Regions from separate parts of the Homo sapiens genome. Here region 1 is linked to region 2. The links are contacts of gene promoters, found by promoter capture Hi-C in blood cells and fetal thymus (Javierre and others, 2016). All regions are on one chromosome and are shown on one strand. Each heading gives the region's core, a stretch centred on a gene start or on the middle of the fragment in contact. The rest is flanking DNA. Distances are from core to core; before and after follow the strand shown. Region 1 overlaps SBNO2 (strawberry notch homolog 2). Region 2 holds the start of PRTN3 (proteinase 3).

Region 1 (3,733 bases), core at 914-3,413, 310 kb before region 2:
GAGGTGGGCAGATCACCTGAGGTCCCGAGTTCAAGACCAGCCTGGCCAACATAGTGAAACCTCGCTTCTGCTAAAGATACCAAACTTAGCCAGGCGTGGTGGCGGACGCCTGTAATCCCAGCTACTCGGGAGGCTGAGGCAGGAGAATTGCTTAAATCTAGGAGGCAGAGGCTGCAGTGAGTGGAGACGGCGCCACTGAACTCTAGCCTGGGCGACAAGAGTGAGACTCCATCTCAAAAAAATGAAAAATAGGCCTGGCACGGTGGCTCACGCCTGTAATCCTAGCACTTTCAGAGGCCAAGGCGGGCAGATCACTTGAGGTCAGGAGTTTGAGACCAGCCTGGCCAACATGGTGAAACCCTGTCTCTACTAAAAATACAAAAAATTAGCCTGGCGTGGTGGCAGGTGTCTGTAATCCCAGCTACTTGGGAGGCTGAGGCAGGAGAATCGCTTGAACCTGGGAGGCAGAGGCTGCAGTGAGCAGAGATTGCACCACTGCACTCCAGCCTGGGTGACAGAGCGAAACTGTGGCTCAAAAAGAAAAAAAAAAATTTTTAAATTAAAAATATATAAACGTGTATATATATATTTATTTTTATTTTATTTCATTTTATTTTATTTTGTTTTGTTATTTTTAAAACACGGTTTCACTCTGTTGCCCAGGCTGGAAGTGCAGTGGTGCGATCTCGGCTCACTGCAGCCTCTGCCTCCTGGGCTAGTGATTCTCCTGCCTCAGCCTCCTGAGTAGCTGGGACCACAGGTACGCGCCACCATGCCCGGCAGATTTTTAAAATTTTCTCGTAGAGATGAGGTTTTGCCCCGTTGGACACGCTGGTCTCAAACTCCCGGGCTCAGTTGACCCGCCTGCCTTGACCTCCCAAAGTGCTGGGATTACAGGCGTGAGCCACCGCGCCCGGCCCTGCCTGGGGATTTACCTGGAGACAGAGGGGCTGCCCTCTCCTATCAAGCAGCAGGACCTGCTCCAGGACTCCAGGGTCTCCTGGGTACTCCCTAGCCCAACACCCAGGTTGGCCTGTGGGGCGAACATCACAGACACCCCTCGGCAGTCCATCCTCAGAGGGCTTTGGGCAGCTTCCTGCCATGTTCTGACCGTCCAGAGGGGGCTCTGAGCTGGGGCCAGGGTACCCCTCTCGTAGCAGGGTCCCTGTTGCGGCCCAGACCCCTCCTGTCCCCCTCCCTAGTTCCTGAGTCCCTTGGGGTTGAGGCTGGATCCTCACAGCTGCCCCGGTGGAGCTCGAGTACCGGCCGTCGGTCAGCCTCCTGGGCCACCATAAAGGGGACTGGCCAAGCCACATCCCCACCGGAACAGCTCCATCCCCCGAAACCCGCCAGGAGCTTGTTCCGATCCAAGAATTCTATCTCGGAAACACACCCTGGGGACTAATCCAGGAGGGAGGGGAAGACAGAGCGGCACTATTTATAGTGGCAGGAAACTGGAATCTCCCCAGAGGCTCTACGGTGGGGAAATAATTAAGCGAATTATGGGATGTGGAGACAGAGGAGCCATCTTCAAGGATCCGAGCGGGAGCAGGAAGGTGTTAGCAGTGACAGTCGGGGAATGCGACAGGGCTGGAACCCGGCGGGGGCACTGGACACCAGCCACAGGGCTCAGGCCGGGGCGCACCCGTGCGCGTAACCGGCTTTGCTCCCCATCCCGTGTGTGAGGCTCATCCCACCCTCCCTGTTCCGGGTTCCGTCACATTCGGGTACGTCATGGACACCTCTGGGCAGGGTCGACTGAGTTCGCACACGCACAGCCCAGCCTCTTCCAGTGCCCAGAGTATTCAATTAGAAATAAAAATACACCGGCCAGCACAATGGTTCACGCCTGAAATCCCAGCACTCTGGGAGGCCGAGGTGGGCACATTGCTTGGGGTCAGGAGTTCGAGACCGGCCTGGCCAACATGATGAAATCCCATCTCTACTAAAAATACAAAAGTTAGCTGGGCGTGGTGGCGGGCGCCTGTAATCCCAGCTACGCATGAGGCTGAGACAGGAGAATCGCTTGAACTCGGGAGGTGGAGGTTGCAGTGAGCCACGATCGTGCCACTGCACTTCAGCCTGGGTGACAGAGTGAGACTCCGTCTCAAAATAAGGAAAGGAAAGAAAATCACCAGGCAGGCTCTGATTGTCTGGGCAGGGTCAGGTGCCCATCTCTGGACCAATTATGTGCTAGGACCTGCCATCTAAAGGTGAAGCCACACCCTCTGGCTGCCAGAGAAGGTCCCAGGGAAGACTCTGATTGGCCTGCCATGCCCATGGCACCCCTGTGGGGTGGGACTCGGGTGTGTGTGGATGGCAGGTCTCAGAGGAGCCATGGGCTGTGGGAGGGAGGAGACTAGGGGGATAGAGGCAGTCAGGACTTTCCCCCCGTCCCATCCCCTAGCCTGGCCTGGGTACAGGTGGAGCATGTTGGGTGAGCCAGGGACCCCTGGATCCTCCCGCCCTGCGACCCCAAGCCCCCCGCCCCCTTCCTGCAGCTGCAGTTCCCTGGCCGTGGCCCTGCCCAGCCTGGCCCAAGGCGCCGTGTGTGCCTGAGACGGACTCCAGCTCATCTGAGGAGGCTGGGTTGGTCTGGAGTCAGAGTTCTGTTCCAGAATGTTCCGGATGTGCCACATGGCCTTGGGAAGTTCCTGTTTCTCTCCAGGGCTGGCTTTCTCTCTTCCCAAAAGGGCAGGAGGAGGGGAAGGATCAGGAGACCCGGGCTCTGGAGCCCCTGTGGCTGGTGGCCCGGCTTCCTGCAAGCCACTTGCACGGGGTCTTCTCACGGGTGCAGGAGCTCAGGGTGCCCAGGCTGCCGGCCTCTGTGCAGGGGAGGAGCTGTGGGCTTTTGCTGATAAACTTATTTTATGCAAAAGCTGGAGGAGCGGGGCAGCGGTCACCCCGAGGGCTTTGCCTATCTCGAGGCTGTCGGGGGTCCTGGAATCCCCCACCCAGCACCTGCGGGTACAGAAAGTGGCCCCCGGCCATCCGGGCTGGTTCCCAGCCAGTGTGAGGTGAATGAGGGGCAGAGGTGGCCGAGCCCCAGGGAATTGCATCAGGGCCTCATAGAGGAGCAGGGCTCACGTGGGCCTGGGAGAGGTCACTGGGGGACTCAGGGAAGCAGGCGAACCCCCAACCCTGTTCTGGAAGCCAGCGTGGCCCCCAGTCCTGCTGGGATAAGCAGGATGATGCCCCCGGCTGGTGGTGTCTCCCCCATGACCACGGGGGCGTCCGTGACGGCAGGGTCTCCCCCGTGACCGTGGGGGCGTCCGTGACGGCAGGGTCTCCCCCGTGACCGTGGGGGCATCCGTGACGGCAGGGTCTCCCCCGTGACTGTGGGGGCGTCTGTGACGGCAGGGTCTCTCTGCTGCAGGTGAGGTTGGCCCTGTGCAGGTGGGGGCCCTGCTGAGGGGTGCCCATTCTGCAGGGCACGAGGTGTCCACAGCCCTGCCCCCGAAGCCGCAGGTGCTGACCCTGGGCCCGCTGCCGCCCTTGGGCCCGCTGCTGCCCCGTGTGCTCCCCATCCTCAGGTTTTGGGGCCTGCCGTGTGCCTCAAGCCGCTCTCATTCCCAAGGGCAGGCATAGTGAGGTTTTCCCAGAGAACCATGGGGTGGGGACATCGGCTCCTGGCGAGGGTGTTGGGTAAGCCTGGCCTGGAGTCAGACCCACCAGAGATTCGGCCAACCTGGAGCCACTCACGCCTCCACTGACCTCGGGCTGAGCCTCCAGG
Region 2 (3,662 bases), core at 81-2,580:
AAAAAAAAAATCAGCCAACAAAGAGACCCATTTTGCAGATGAACAAACTGAGGCATTGAAAATCCCCCTCAGGTCAGGAGTTCGAGACCAGCCTGACCAACGTGGTGAAACCCCATCTCTACTAAAAATACAAAAACTAGCCAGGTGTGGTGGTGTGTGCTTGTAATCCCAGCTACTCAAGAGGCGGAGGCAGGAGAATCATTTGACCCCAGGAGGCTGAGGCTGCAGTAAACTGAGATTGCACCACTGCACTCCAGCCTGGGCGACAGAGCAAGATTCCGTTTCAAAAAAGAAAAAAAAAGGGCCAGGCGCGGTGGCTCACGCCTGTAATCCCAGCACTTTGGGAGGCTGAGGCAGGCGGATCACGAAGTCAGGAGATCGAGACCATCCTGGCTAACACCTTGAAACCCCGTCTCTACAAAAATTACAAAAAATTATCCAGGCATGGTGGTGGGCGCCTGTAGTCCCAGCTACTCGGGAGGCTGAGGCAGGAGAAAGGCGTGAACCCGGGAGGCTGAGCTTGCAGTGAGCCGAGATCGCGCCACTGCACTCCAGCCTGGGCGACAGGGCGAGACTCCGTCTCAAAAAAAAAAAAAAGAAAAAGAAAAAGAAAATCACCCTCAGGATAGGGACCTGAGGGGGCCCATGCTCTCTTCTTCCCCTGATTCCAGCATCACTAACTCCTCGACCCTTTCACTCACTCACTCATTCATTCATTCACTCATTCATTCGTTCACTCATTCACTCATTCACTCATTCATTCACTCATTCACTCATTCATTCACTCACTCATTGATTCATTCACTCATTCATTCGTTCACTCATTCACTCATTCACTCATTCATTCACTCACTCATTGATTCATTCACTCATTCATTTGTTCACTCATTCACTCACTCACTCATTCATTCACTCATTCATTCATTCATGCATATTCACTGAGCATTTGCTGAAGGCTGGGTGCTGTCCAGGAATTCGCCTGTTACTAGCTAATTCCCAAAACAGCTCCTCAGGAGGGAAGGGCTGGGTTTTGCCCGTTTTACAGATAGGCAACTGAGTCAAATGGCCAGGGCTCCCCCTTGCCCTTGTCCTCCCCACCCCTGCAAGCGTTGGTCCCGAGCAGTGAGTGGAGTCTCCCCTGACCCTGCCTCAGTTTCCCCAGCTGTGCCAGAAGGGCTTTGGATGGACCTCGTGGTGGATATTTCCCCACAATCCACCGGGGCCTGGAGGCTGGATGGATGGGCACGTGGCTCACTCACCGCTCAGCAGCAAGGCCAGCAGCACGGACGCCAGGGCAGGGCTGGGGGGCCGGTGAGCCATGGTGGGGTCCAGGGTGCACCCACGGTCAAGCTCCTCTTATAGCCCAATGCCAGAGGCCGTTGAGTTGCCCAATGCCCAGGCTGGGTCCCCACTTCCTCCTTTTGCCTTGGGAGCCTGGGAGTCAGAACGGACTCCGGGGAGGAGGTGGGGGCTTTGGGCTCAAGGTCCCAACCTTTGTGGGGGCGGGGAGGCTGGCTGTCACCCACCCAAGTCGGGGGTCCCTGGCCAGGTGGGCAACATGGCCACAGCCCTCAGAGCAACACATGCCCACGTGCCACCCACAAGGAGACGCCTCCCTGACGAGGTCCCTGTGGCCCCAGCAAAGCCGGCCGTGGCAGGTGTGTCCCGTGGGTGGGTGAGCTGGAAACGGACAGACAGCAGGACGTAGCAGGGGACAGGATGCAGAGCTCGGGAAGGCAGGGCCCCACCACGAGTGCCCTCAGTGCCTCACCTGAGGCCCCAGCGAACATCCTCCTGCCAGTTTTGTCTGGGGGTTTTCTTCCCCCTTTAAGGCCAGGATTCTCAATCAAGAGGTGATTCTGCCCCCAGGGGACCCTGGGCGAGGTCTGAGGACACCTGTGGCTGTCACGAAAGGGGAGCTCCTGGCATGGAGTGGGTGGAGGCCAAGGATGATGCCTAGCACCCTGCAGTGCCCAGGACGGGCCTGCCCCAGAGAAGGATCCAGCCCCGATGTCCACAGGGCCCAGGGGAGAGACCAGTGTTCATTATTTGGGGAAAAAAATGGCCAGGTGCGGTGCCTCACACCTGTAATCCCAGCACTTTGGGAGGCCGAGGCGGGTGGATCGCCTGAGGTCAGGAGTTCAAGACCAGCCTGGCCAACATAGTGAAACCCCATCTCTACTAAAAATACAAAAATTAGCTGCGCGTGTTGGCGGGCGCCTGTAGTCCCAGCTACTCAGGAGGCTGAGGCAGGAGAATCACTTGAGCCTGGGAGGCGAAGGTTGCAGGGAGCCAAGATCGTGCCACTGCACTCCAGCCTGGGCAACAGAGCAAGACTCCATCTCAAAACATAAATAAATAAAAATAAAAAATAAAAAATCCAGTCTGCCCCCTGCTCACACCGGACACCAGAATAAACTCCCGATGGGGCGTACGGCATAAACCCGGGGGACCCCAGCTCCCGGGACTCGCCTCCTCTCTCCCTCCCACTCAGGGTGTGGATTTCAATGTGTGCAGCCTCCTGGGACCTCAGCAGGGCAGAGGATCATGGGACTCAGAGTCTCTTGGGGTCTGTGGAATCCTCTAACCCTGGGGTGATTCTGCCCCCAGGGGTCCCTGTGTGAGGCCTGGAGACATCCGTGGTTGTCACGACTTGGAGGGAGCTCCTGGCAGGGCCCTGCAGTGCCCAGGATGGCCCCGCCGCAGAGACAAATCCAGCCCCCATGTCTGCAGTGCCGGAAACGGGGGAAAGCCGAGGACAGAGGATAAAATTATTTATTTATAACTGAACGGTTTAAACCTACAGTGAAATGGAGAGAAGCACTGAATGAACTTGGAGGCCAAAAAGAAAAAAAGCTTTTTAACGTTTCATTTGGAAAGGATTTCACGCTTACAGAAGTCCAAAGGGTCCAAACTCCCTCCCCGCTCCCCAAACTCCCTCCCCCGGCCTCCCTCCCCCAGCTTCCCTAAATTCTGTCCTCTTGCTCAACCCTCCAGGCTGTGATCGAAGCCAGGGCGCGAAAGTTGATTCCAAATGGCCCCCTCTGCCCCAGCCCCCTGAGTATCACCAGCCACCCTTTGCTGGGTCCTGGGTACACAAGCCACCCATCTTCAGATGTCAGGGTCTCCTCCAGCGGGCGCAGTCCCTCTGCCCTCCCTCAGCCCTTGGGACCATTGAGGAGAGCTGGTGGTCACTCTGCAGAGCGTCCCTCCGTGGGGATGGTCCTGGGTGGCCTCAGGACTCAATGGAGGGAGTCCCGGGCGTGGCGTGTGTCTGTCTCAGGCCCCCCACGTCGAAGCCCATGGCTTCGGCCTGTCTCGTGCTGATGGTAATAACCTTGACCACGTGGTCAGGGCATCTGCCGGTTCCTGCACTGTCCAGTTACTGTTTTCCCCTTTGGATTTTTTTTTTTTTTTGAGACAGAGTCTCGCTCTGTCACCAGGCTGGAGAGCAGTGGTGCGATCTCAGCTCACTGCAATCTCCGCCTCCCGGGTTCAAACAATTCTCCTGCCTCAGCCTCCTGTATAGCTGGGATTATAGACGCCCACCACCACGCCTGGCTAATTTTTTTTTTTTTTTGTATTTTTAGTAAAGACGGGGTTTCACTATATTGGCCAGGCTGGTCTCGAACTCCTGACCTCAGGTGACCCGCCCGTAATCC

What was found. Contacts are between HindIII fragments. The CHiCAGO score rates a contact against its expected background, and 5 or more counts as called.
Region 1: a fragment that was not itself captured here is called in contact with the fragment with the promoter of PRTN3 in region 2 in 1 of 17 cell types (monocytes); the score reaches 6.0 in monocytes.

Annotation. Positions count from the first base shown.
Region 1 is chr19:1,150,057-1,153,789 of GRCh38, reverse strand. All of the region lies in intron 2 of SBNO2 (strawberry notch homolog 2), which reads left to right. Among named protein-coding and RNA genes, the nearest start is that of SBNO2, 22 kb to the left of the region's middle. The HindIII fragment of the contact is 7,004 bases long and covers 1-3,733 here.
Region 2 is chr19:838,667-842,328 of GRCh38, reverse strand. It overlaps PRTN3 (proteinase 3), which reads right to left and starts at 1,330. Exons shown (of 5, transcript NM_002777.4): 1 at 1,260-1,330. The coding sequence starts at 1,320. The HindIII fragment of the contact is 23,301 bases long and covers 1-2,858 here.